3 separate regions of the Homo sapiens genome follow, and all the other regions are linked to region 1. Evidence: promoter capture Hi-C in 16 types of primary human blood cells and fetal thymus (Javierre and others, 2016). All regions are on one chromosome and are shown on one strand. Each heading gives the region's core, a stretch centred on a gene start or on the middle of the fragment in contact. The rest is flanking DNA. Distances are from core to core; before and after follow the strand shown.

Region 1 (3,535 bases), core at 684-3,183:
CTGTTCCTTTTGTCCAAACACCCTTCTCGCTTGTTTAGCAAAATCCTATGCATCTTTCAACCTCCATCTTCTTTTTCTATCCAAGCAGAAGTACTGTTCTCTCCTATGTACATACCCCTATTATTGCACATTCCTCAATCAACAGATTCAGAGTCTCTACTACTAGCCAGCCACTATACAAGGCATTGTGAATATAAAAATAAATGGCTTTCCATCCCTCTCCCGACCCCAACTAGCCTGGAAGCTCACTGGGGACAAGGACAATCGTATTCATCTTTGTATTCCCAGCACAATGCCTTGCATGCAACAGGAACTCAATAAATTCCTGTTGGAAAAAAACAAAAGAAGCATTCACCGTACTATTCACTCCCTTACACCCCTCAGCACTTAATGTACCAAATGTAAACTGAGTACACGTTGCTTTGCAAATGTCCCATCAGTGCCTGTGATGCAGTATAGCCTACCTCCTTCATTTGACTGGAAGCTCCCTGAAGGCAGGGGCTGTGGCCTGTCTCCTTTCCTTCCTCTAGATCTCCCCCTGGTGCTTAATACAGAGCTTGGATCACTGGGGTTGGTCAATATGTTGACTAAGGCAGCATTCAAGAGTGAAACTGCAAACAGGCTTCCCAGTTATCTTGGAGGAGGACTCTAGAGCTTTTTACCTGAGCCATGCTGATTTCTCACTTAAGGCAACCCAAAAGTTCAGGAGTTCCTAGGTCCACCTTTCCTTGAGACACTGTCGTTTTGAAGAACTGTCACCAAATCACGGTAGCGACTCCTTCGTGTCCCATCAGTCCTGTTGCCATATTGAACTTTGTCTTCAAATAGAACTTAGTGTCCTCCGAAGAAAAGATAGGTGTTCCAAGAATCCCTGGACTCTGCCTGGCTCCTGCCTATTGTCTGAAGAAAAAGAGAGTCTACCAGTCTTGGTTTTCCAGTTGAATTCTCTTGATGAAGCTCACGATCTGTTTCAGAAACCTGAAACCAGAAAGGAAGAGGGGGGCTGCTAAATGCAACATCTTCAGGCCATTACAACGTGCGATATGAATTTTTTTTTTGCTGGGCGCTCTCTGTGAAGCTCAGAACGAGGACATGAGTCAAGAAGAGTTTTCTTTCTAGGTCAATAGGAGGAACTGGTCTCCTGGGCAAGGAGTGGAAGCCAACAGGAGCAAAAGTAATTGGGGCCTCCTATGGAGGAACTCTGCCAAAAGGAAAGTTGCTTGGATTTGCCATCTCAGGAATGGAAGAAGGGGGCGGAGACCCTTTGGGGCTTTTGTGCCCAGTGGGCCGGCCCGAAAAGCTCGCACTTTACAGAGGCGGCAAGACTAGGGTGGAGGAAAGCTCAAGGGCCATCGCTGGGTGCTTCGGTGGCGGGCAGAAACGGGACTGGCAGTGCCCACACGTGTGCGTTCTCCCCGTCCGCCCGAAGGTAGGGAAACTTGCTGCGGAGGTGGAGGACAGGCAGGCGAAGCCCGGCGCGGCGTGTCGCCCGCCTCGCTCCGGCCAGCCAGCCTCTGCACCCGCTGCACCAACCGGGAGCAGAGCCGGAGAGTGCCGAGAAGCGCGCGAGATGCGTGCTCGCGCCCGCGTCCCCTCCGAGAGCCCTCTCCCGGGCCGGGGACGCGGCGGGACGCGCGGGCAGGGGGCGGTGTGCGCGCACGGCCTTTCCCCTCCCTCCCCCGGAGATCCCCCTCCCTTCGCCACGCGCCCCTCCTCCCCTCCCCTCCCCCTTCCCGCGCGGCACCCCACGGCTTGCGAGCTACTGAAGCGCTGCCGTCTGTACGGACGACGCTGCGGTCTTTGGGGCTTGCTCCTACCTGCCAGGCGCGGCCTCCCGCTGGCTCCCTGGCCGCGCGGCGCCTCCTCCAGGCCCCAGCACACCCTGCCAACCCCACCGCCGCGGCTGCCCCCACCGGGACCGAGGCAAGTTTACAAACACCAACCCCGGCCCGTTTCCCCGGAAGCACTTCCCCCTCCCCCTCGTCCTCTCCGCCGAGCGGCTGCATCCACTTCCGGGCTCGGCAGCTAGACTAGCGGGGGCAGCCTCAGAGCGGGTGAGCTTGGGGACGCACGGAGAGGTGCAGCTGGGTGAGTGGGCGGCGCCGTGCGCCGAGGGCATGGAGGAGGGAGCGCTGAGGCCGGCGCGTGCGCCGTGGCCGGGGCGCGCCCCGGCCGCCATCGAGACTGAGGGCAGGACCCTCGGCCCTTCGATGATTGTACGCTGGGTGCTCGATGGGAGGAGGGTTTGCTGGGTGAGCTGGTTCAGACTCCTTGAAAAATCATCGTCACTCTTTCTTCCTCGCGGACGTCCTGCCCATCGCTCTGAGCCGGCGCCCCAAGTAGAGCCAGAGTAGTTCGTACCCAGCCTTTTCACGTAACTCGGCCGAGGTGGTTCTTCTCCGAATTTTTTCCGTCAGGCCCAGATTAGCAGATTTTGGGGTCAGCTGGGAGAGGCGTTAACTTTTCTTCGCACACTCTTGCTTTGTGCGCTCAACCACAGTCTGAATTCTCGCAGAGGCGTTCCTTGAGTAGCCCTTGGCCACACTGCTCACCTCCCTGCAGAAGTCAAAGCCCCAGCCCTCCTCTGCGAATCCCGAGGCCAGCCTGGTTGGTTACCTTCTCCCCTTCGCCCTTTACTCCAGGCCGTCCAGCATCAAACACTAGCCTCCACACGTGGAAAAGACCCTGACTCCCACAGTAGACTAGTCTTATGGGAGTCCTGGCTCTTGGGCCAGGCTGCATTAGGAAAATGGAAACCAGACTGTCTTCAAATTCTTCTGCCTAGCCTTAGCCATTAGAGAGAGGTCCTGCTAAAGATGGACTGCAAATGCGCTTGATGGAAGGAGATGTCAATTCCACTGAAGTCCTCATTTCTGCTGTAGGTGATATTATGTCGTGACTTTAGGAGAAGTAATGGTGATACCAAAAGAAAAAAAAAACTGTATGATGAAAAAAAGACAAGGATTCTCAACTTTTTTTTTTTTGTAGACAGATTTCATTTCCCTGAGCCACTCCATGATTTGGGCCATTGAAAGTACGTTTTTTGTGTTTTAGGATCATTCTAAAATAGAGACAAAATGGAGAAAGAGAGAGATAAAGAAACATCACCAGGAATAAGTCTTTTAAATCTTTTTTGAAAATTAGCTCCTACTTATTTTACAAATCGACACAACGCAAAAGTATAAAAGACACAAAATGGTTATTCTCCCCCTCTACTTATCCCATGCTCCTGAAGGGAATCATTCTTACCAGTTTGGTATATATGCTTTTAGGCTTTTTTCTGTGTTCATACAAAAATCTTTTCAACCAGTATTTATTGAGCACCTGTAATGCGCCATACAGTGTATTTTAGACATCTGAGTCAGCTAACATTTAAAAAACTGTTGCACAGTATTCCAGTTTATGTGTGTGCCTTGTCCCATCTTGATGAACATTTAGGTTTCAGATTTTTTTGCTTTATAAACAATACAATAATGAACATCCTTAAATAGTTATCTTTTTGCTCCGGGCAGGGTGGCTCACACCTGTAATCCCA
Region 2 (3,535 bases), core at 418-2,917, 340 kb before region 1:
GTGGCAGTGTGCACCTGTAGTCCCAGCTACTCGGAAGGCTGAGGCACGAGAATCACTTGAACCTGGATGGCAGAGGTTGCAATGAGCTGAGATTGCACCACTGCACTCCAGCCTGGGCAACAGAGCAAGACTCAGTCTTAGGAAAAAAAATAAATAAATAAAATAATGGAATAATTCAGTTCCTGTGAGAATTAATCAAAGAGGATGGCTAAAAAGAGATCTATTTTAAATCATCTTTAAAGAAATGAAGGCCAGGCGCAGTGGCTCATGCCTATAATCCCAGCACTTTGAGAGGCCAAGGCAGGAGGATCACTTGAGACCCTATCTCTTAAAAACAAGAAAGAATAGAAGTAATGAATAATAATAAGAGTTGGTAATGAACTATGCAAAGACCTAGAAACCAGACAGTGTAATTAACATGTTGGAGATTCATTTTATTGGAATAGATAGGTTAATTTTGGCCTAGTTCTTCCCTTCTTACAACTTCCCATTTCCTAGCCCATTTATGACTTAGAAGCCAGGATTCTGGGAAGTTTTCCCCAAAAAAAAGATGGGTTTCATTTCCCTTTTGGGCTCCTTTAGAATTATGGCAAAAGGTAGTCCTGCCTCTTTCCCCATTCTGTTTTCTAACCAATTGCTCTCTGCTCTTTGCCCTCCTTCCTGGCAGAAAGCCCCAAGGAAAGCTCAGAGCCAACGGGTTCTCCAGCCCCTGTGATTCAGCACAGCTCAGCAACAGCCCCTAGCAATGGCCTCAGTGTTCGCTCTGCAGCTGAAGCTGTGGCCACCTCGGTCCTCACTCAGATGGCCAGCCAAAGGACAGAACTGAGCATGCCGATACAATCGCATGTAATCATGACCCCACAGTCCCAGTCTGCGGGCAGATGATGCCTCCTCTGGTGGAGAGGTCCTCAGCCAGAGCTCGCCCGCCCAAGAGCCAAGAGAGATGTCATCTTATCCCCTCCCATCTGCCTTGGACATGGCAATATGGGTGGGGGGAATTGTGTGTTGTGAGTAATGGACAGATATGGGGCTTTTTAGCCATGTGGTCATGTACGTTTGACACCTGTGCTGGGGGCCTCCCAGCCCCGGAGCCTCATAGATCATCCCCCAGGGTGGGGTTTCTGATGCATCCACAGCCAAAGGCCTTTCCAGATGGTCCGAACAATCACCCCTGCCCCATGCACGTGTATCTGTCTCTTTTAACACTAACCCTTGGCACTTCTAGGTTTGGGGTTTCTCAGTTCCCTCTCTTCCCACTAAGCCGTGGCTGTTACCTTTTTGTTCCTTACCAGCATGCCACTTCCTGCCAGATAGAGGGAGGCTAGATTTGATGACATATTACCCGCTGACCCAGCCCCAGCCACCCCATGGACTCAGGACTCAGGTCTCCCATAGCTGCTTATTTACCCGTTTCCTTTTTCCTCTTCCTTAATTCTAGTTAAAACATTCACTTACGGAGAATGTAAGGTTACCTTTGATGTATGAAGTAGCAGTATTTTCCAGTTTTTCCATAAGCTTTATTCCTTCTCTCTACCTGCCACCAAAAAGAAAGAAACCCTCAAGAGTTCTAATTCTTTTTCATCTATTTGCAGAGCTATTTGGGTACCTCATTTTGTCCCTTGACTTTAGTGTAGTGGTGGGGTCTTTCCCACCACCCCACTAAGCCTTGGCAACCTCATTTTGTGGCCTTATTATTAAAGATTGCTTGGTAGTGAAAAGGGAAGGGCCCAGAATCTGACTGGCTGATTCTGTCTCCTCCCCTCCCTCCTTCTTTAGTTTAACCATCAGGGCAGACAGGAACAAAGTATTTCAAAGCTTGTTCCATCAAGTTAGGGATTAATCGATTCCTTTATGTTTTATAAGAGTTTACCGGCCAAAGCATATTGTCATCTTTGGTCATTTTTCTGCTCCTGCTTCTCTCTCTTCATTCCCCTATCAACATTACCGCCCCTGTCTCTCTTCTGTAACTACTTCAGACTCAGCCCTCCTGGAGGCTGTCATGTAGGGGACTCTCGAGTTCCTTTGTTCTACCCCATCTCTCCCCCTCACACATCTGTCTGCTTTTCTGAGCTAGAGTCTTCTGTTCACAAGTGCCCATCACCGTCTGGACTATCTTCTTTCTCTTTCACCAGGTTCCTAGCTTAGCCACTAGGTCTTCCAGGTCCTCCAGAGTTTCTTCAACCCATTTCTTCTCTCTTCTCTTTACATGCAGTGCTCCAGGATCTTGAAGCGTCATAGCCAAGATGCTGAGTGGGTTTACTTGAGTATAAGATTGAAAGGAGGGAGGAAGAGGAGAGGGAAAGTGCAGAACTGGTCCCAGCAAAGGACCCCAGGTTCTGGCCTGGGAAATTGGTGACTATTGCTCTCAACCATTCTTACTTTGAAGAGTTGGGTTGCAGAGGGAGCAATTCATCTCTCTTGTCCCTCTTCCACGTTAAGGCTTCTCATCTCCCCTTGGCTCTGAACTATGCAGTTTCTACCAGGACCATAGGAAGCAATTCAGAGCCAGAGGCCTGTGGATAGATAGGTCAGCTTTAATTGCCTTTCCGTATGAAACCCTTCCAGTTGTCCCAGAGCCACTTTCTGCCATCTGTGCAAGCCAAGAATGTCCTTCTCTCCATCTTTCCTACCTCCATCTTAAACATACATACAAAATAACTGCCAGCTTCCTTTCTTATTTTGTCTCCAAAATTGACTGTCACAGGGGAATGAGAAAATGTTCTAAGCTACAAGATTCCCGTTTCCTTAAAGTGATATCCTGTCCTAGTGAACCAGTCAGGTAACAGGTTCTGCTGCATTTGTTTTAAATTTCCCCTCCTGCTTTTCAGAGCTGGTGCTGAACAGGCCACACCCCTAAAGACAAAGGAGAGAAAACACGGTTTTCTCATCCTCTACCATCAGGTACCCAACAGGAATAGGCCCTGAAGTGATTCAGACTAGCAAATGTTATGGCAGATGGTCAGGACGCAGGTTACCACATCCAGGGACTTCACTTTTGCCTTTAAAAATTCACAGCCGTAACTTGTGCTCAGGACTTCCCCTTTAGCTGGCTGCTCCCTGGGATTTTCTCCTGCTTTAGAGTTTTGTTTCATTTTTTTATTGTCTTGATTTCCCAGTAGCAGCCTTGCCCTAAAGCTTGACTGAGTTTATGGCTCCTAAGGAGCTTTCCTAAGACTCTTGACTATTTTTCTTCCCCCTTCAGTCAAGTGTTTTTACAGTTAAGAATTAATTTGTAACTGCATACATGCCCTGCCAGTCTGTCCCTGTGTTGGGTGGCTAATTTATGTAGCGGGTCTTTTTTATTTCTTAGCCCCCATGACTAATTATCTAGTCCTAACTTCATTTTTATCAGTGGGAAGATGTGTACGGGACCTCAGTGAGGAGCACTGCCAGAACCACAGTAACAAAATGGCACTGAAATAAGGAAGCAGCAGGTCAGAACCCCCTAGATAGTTCTTGAGTTGGTTCTCAGTCTCACTAAGGAGGCAGAATAATTGCTGCCCTGAAACTTCTCTGATAGTCAAAGGTAACTTCA
Region 3 (3,535 bases), core at 653-3,152, 290 kb before region 1:
TATGAGAGGCCTGTGCCCATCTTAGTATAAGAAAATGAACAAGATTTCAGGGAGGTTAGTACGATTGAGTAAAAGTAAAGCTTAAGTTGTTAGTCCTGGCTAGTCACTCATAACCTATGAATTTAAATTATCTTAGGGCCTCTATTTTTTAATCTGTAAAATGAGGGGATCAATGTGTTACAGATTAGTTGATCCTTAAGGTTCCTTCCAAATCTAAGCATGTCACTTCCTACTCCTGATAGTGCTGGTGGGGAGCAGAAAGGATACGGCCAGGAATAGAAAAAAGGGTAAAGAAACTTGGTTGACAGAGTTGGTTTAGGACTAGTGGATGGCATCATGTCAAGTTGTGGATAATGTCACGGGTTGGCTGAGATATACCTAATGTCACAGAAAGAGGCATAATGCTAATTCAGAGGAATGCAGACAGAAGCTGCCTAATTTTATTAGACTTATCCCACTTTGCCCCTCCCCTTCATTCTGGGTAAAGAAGTATGTTCTTTGAATGTATGACTTGGAAGAGATCCTCATGGTAACCATTCACCAGAGGAATCCTGGGATGAACACCTTGTTAGCTGCTGCTGGCAAGGTAAGGCCATCTGAGAAGTCAGATAAACTTCCTCACTAGTGAAGCTTGTTGCCAATTACAGAGGACCTTCAGGATCTAAACTGCCACAGACTCGTTATCTCTTTGTGGAAATATTGACAAACGACTATAAAATTCACTTGGGATTCAAAAAGCCCATGTCAGTTATACAGGCTTCCTAGCTGAATAGCCACAAGTCACAAGCCCCCAACCCTTTACCCTTCACAGCACACAGTGTACTAAGGTTCTTACTGCGCCAACTTTATTACAGCTAGAAACACAAATATGGCCAAGAAGGCCTGCTGATAGCTTAACCATTAAATAATTCTTAAAAAAAAAAAAAAAAGTTAACGAAGCAGCTTTTATTCATTAACACAGAGCCTAACACATTGTTATATTGCAAGGCAGAATAAAGCTACAAAGAAAAGTAACAAACAAGAAAGAAGAGAAAACTGTGGCTCTAGATAAAGAATTCAAGTCAGACCCTGAAACAGGCACTCAGCTGAAATGGCCTAAACCTAAACAAGGGTTACCACTCCCCCACCCCCACCCAGTTATCCCCCAAAGTAGTAAAAAGGAAACGGTAACAAGCTCACAATAGTTTCATTCTCACCAATGTTAACAAAGGAAAACAAAATGAACAAAATAATACTGGAGGAGGTGCCTCAAGGTATGCAATCAGTAGGGAGAGAATCTCTGTTTCTCGCCTTTCAGTTTGTTAGTTACACATGGCACGGCAGAGGTGGTGGTGGTGGTAGCTGAAGCCCCGGTACCCTTAGCAGCAGACACAACATTTAGAGCCAGGAGAGGGATGGGTTTCATGCCAAGCAGACTGGAGACACAAGGGGCGGTCGGAAGAGGGTTGGGGAGGCTGGAGGGTGCGTCGGAGGTCCCCGCTGTGGCGAGCGAGGGGGTGGTGGTGGAGGAGGAAGAAGAAGAAGGGGTGGAGGGTTGAGAGAGGTTGATGCTGAGGTGATCAGGGATCGTGACGGAGGCTGCCTGGGAGGAGGGTTTAGCGTTTTCTAAACTGTAACAGAGGAAAAAAGGAACAAAAAAAAAGGGTGGGTGGAAGGGAAGACCACAAAAGGGAGTAAGTACAGGACAAAAACTGCTTCAGTTATATCAGTAAGTGCCTCTGGTTGACAATTAGGAAGACCTAGTGTCAACTTGTGACAAGCTTTCTTTTAGCCTATGTCCCACCCTCTAAATATGTATATTTCCATTCCACAGAGCTACTTAAAAACTGCTATGGTGAAGAAAAAGCTGACAGAGAAAAGAAATCATAGGGCACATACTTCATGTATCTGACACACTGACCCAACCCAGATGTTGAAGGAATGATTTCGGGTAGAAAAAGATACTCATCAATCACCCAACAAGGAAGAAATGTTTCCTCTAATCAAATGTCAATTTCCTATTCTAACAGAAAATCAATTATCCCACAATTACTTGTGAAGCTTTGAATATTTATAAAGCAGAATTTTTAAAAATCCTTCCAGCTATGTATTAAAGTCTGCTTACATCTCCACAGCAAACAAACCAGTATCAGGGTGGAAAGAGACAAGAGTCCAAAGTAGGTCACTGACTAATTTCAAATTTCAAAGAATGTAGCGTTTTCAAAGAAAAATGCTGAGAACAGAAGTGTAGATAAGAACTAGGGAAGCTTTTCTGGTGGGAGGTGGTATAAAAAGTTGTTTCTGACTGATCATACTTCTAATGTGGACCTTTCAGAAGTGGAAAAGAGAAACTCAAGTATCACCTAAAAATTCATACTTAAGCGAAAATGCTGCTGCTTCCACTCCCAAAATAAGCTCCACAGAACAGTAAGGGTACATGTCTCCCAAATGCCTGTATGTGTCTAAGCCAGAACTACATATATTTGGGAAGTGTGCCTGGACAATTGAGCCCACAACGCTAAGTCTTCAAGAGCAGAAAGGCTCCTCTTAAAACCTCATTTTATTTACCTATGTCCAAGGACAGCTGCAATCCATAAAGGAAAGGGATACAGAAGTCAACTAACTATATAAAAGGACAGACTGCCACCATGAAAAATCAAGAGACAGGAGAAAATGCTCAGAATCCAGTAAAATCCTTCTTGACTTAAAAAAAATGAGAAAGGAAAAAAAAAAAAACCCTTTGACTTCTGCATTTAAACTGCACCAAGTTGAGAAAGAATAAGCTTTGTGCATGCATAATCTTTGCTTTGGTGTTAGATGAAGCTTTGAAAAGTTTTGACCCTAATCCATGGCTAAGATACCGAATTGCTATTCAGTAACAATGATCCTGAAAAGAGCCACTCTACCAAGAGAATTCTGCTTCCTTACAATGTAGCCACTGACCTATTGCAGGAGCTAGGCAAGCAGGTCACATTTAAACAGTCACAATTTAAATTACATGAAGGGCAAGCCTATCGAAAGAACAAAACAAATTCCAGCTTTCAAAAACCTGATTCTTGCCACTGAAAACTGAAAACTTCTTGCCCTCCAAAATCCTAATTACAAATAAGAAAAACAAGCTGGGCATAGTGGCTCACGCCTGTAATCCCAGCACTTTGGGAGGCCGAGGCAGGTGGATGACAAGGTCAAAAGATCGAGGCCATCCTTGCCAACATGGTGAAACCCCGTCTATACTAAAAATACAAAAATTAGCTGGACGTGGTGGCACGTGCCTGTAAGTCCCAGCTACTTGGGAGGCTGAGGCAGGAGAATCACTTGAGCCCAGGAGGCAGAGGTTGCAGTGAGCCGAGATGGAGCCACTGCACTCCAGCCTGGTGACAGAGCAAGACTCCGTCTCAAAAAAAAAAAAAAGAAAGAAAAACAATTCTTGTAATCCCAGCACTTTGGGAGGCATATCACTTGAGGTCAGGAGTTGGAGACGAGCCTGACCAACATGAAACCCTATCTCTAAAAAAGAAAAAGACCTCTTTGCAAACAACCTTGGTGCAAAAGTTTA

The links. The method cuts DNA at HindIII sites, captures the fragments that hold promoters and counts their contacts. A CHiCAGO score of 5 or more calls a contact.
Region 2: a fragment that was not itself captured here is called in contact with the fragment with the promoter of ZNF740 in region 1 in 1 of 17 cell types (total B cells); the score reaches 5.2 in total B cells.
Region 3: a contact is called between a fragment that was not itself captured here and the fragment with the promoter of ZNF740 in region 1, in 2 of 17 cell types (naive B cells and activated CD4 T cells). The highest score is 6.3, in naive B cells.

Annotation. Positions count from the first base shown.
Region 1 is chr12:53,179,120-53,182,654 of GRCh38, reverse strand. It overlaps ZNF740 (zinc finger protein 740), which reads right to left and starts at 1,933. Exons shown (of 7, transcript NM_001004304.4): 1 at 1,818-1,933; 2 at 663-978. The coding sequence starts at 671. CSAD (cysteine sulfinic acid decarboxylase) reads left to right here and starts at 1,730. Exons shown (of 17, transcript NM_001244705.2): 1 at 1,730-1,923; 2 at 3,513-3,535. RefSeq lists silencers at 916-1,210, 1,564-1,863, 2,154-2,243 and an enhancer at 1,906-2,464. The HindIII fragment of the contact is 11,552 bases long and covers 1-3,535 here.
Region 2 is chr12:53,514,487-53,518,021 of GRCh38, reverse strand. It overlaps ATF7-NPFF (ATF7-NPFF readthrough), which reads left to right. Exons shown (of 15, transcript NR_159377.1): 12 at 668-1,007. It overlaps ATF7 (activating transcription factor 7), which reads left to right. Exons shown (of 12, transcript NM_006856.3): 12 at 668-3,535. The coding sequence ends at 885. It overlaps ATF7-AS1 (ATF7 antisense RNA 1), which reads right to left. Exons shown (of 3, transcript NR_046221.1): 3 at 414-2,513. Among named protein-coding and RNA genes, the nearest start is that of ATF7-AS1, 2.3 kb to the right of the region's middle. RefSeq lists an enhancer at 434-933 and a silencer at 1,900-2,141. The HindIII fragment of the contact is 300 bases long and covers 1,518-1,817 here.
Region 3 is chr12:53,472,944-53,476,478 of GRCh38, reverse strand. The region is part of intron 14 of PCBP2 (poly(rC) binding protein 2); the gene reads right to left. Among named protein-coding and RNA genes, the nearest start is that of PCBP2-OT1, 10 kb to the right of the region's middle. The HindIII fragment of the contact is 280 bases long and covers 1,763-2,042 here.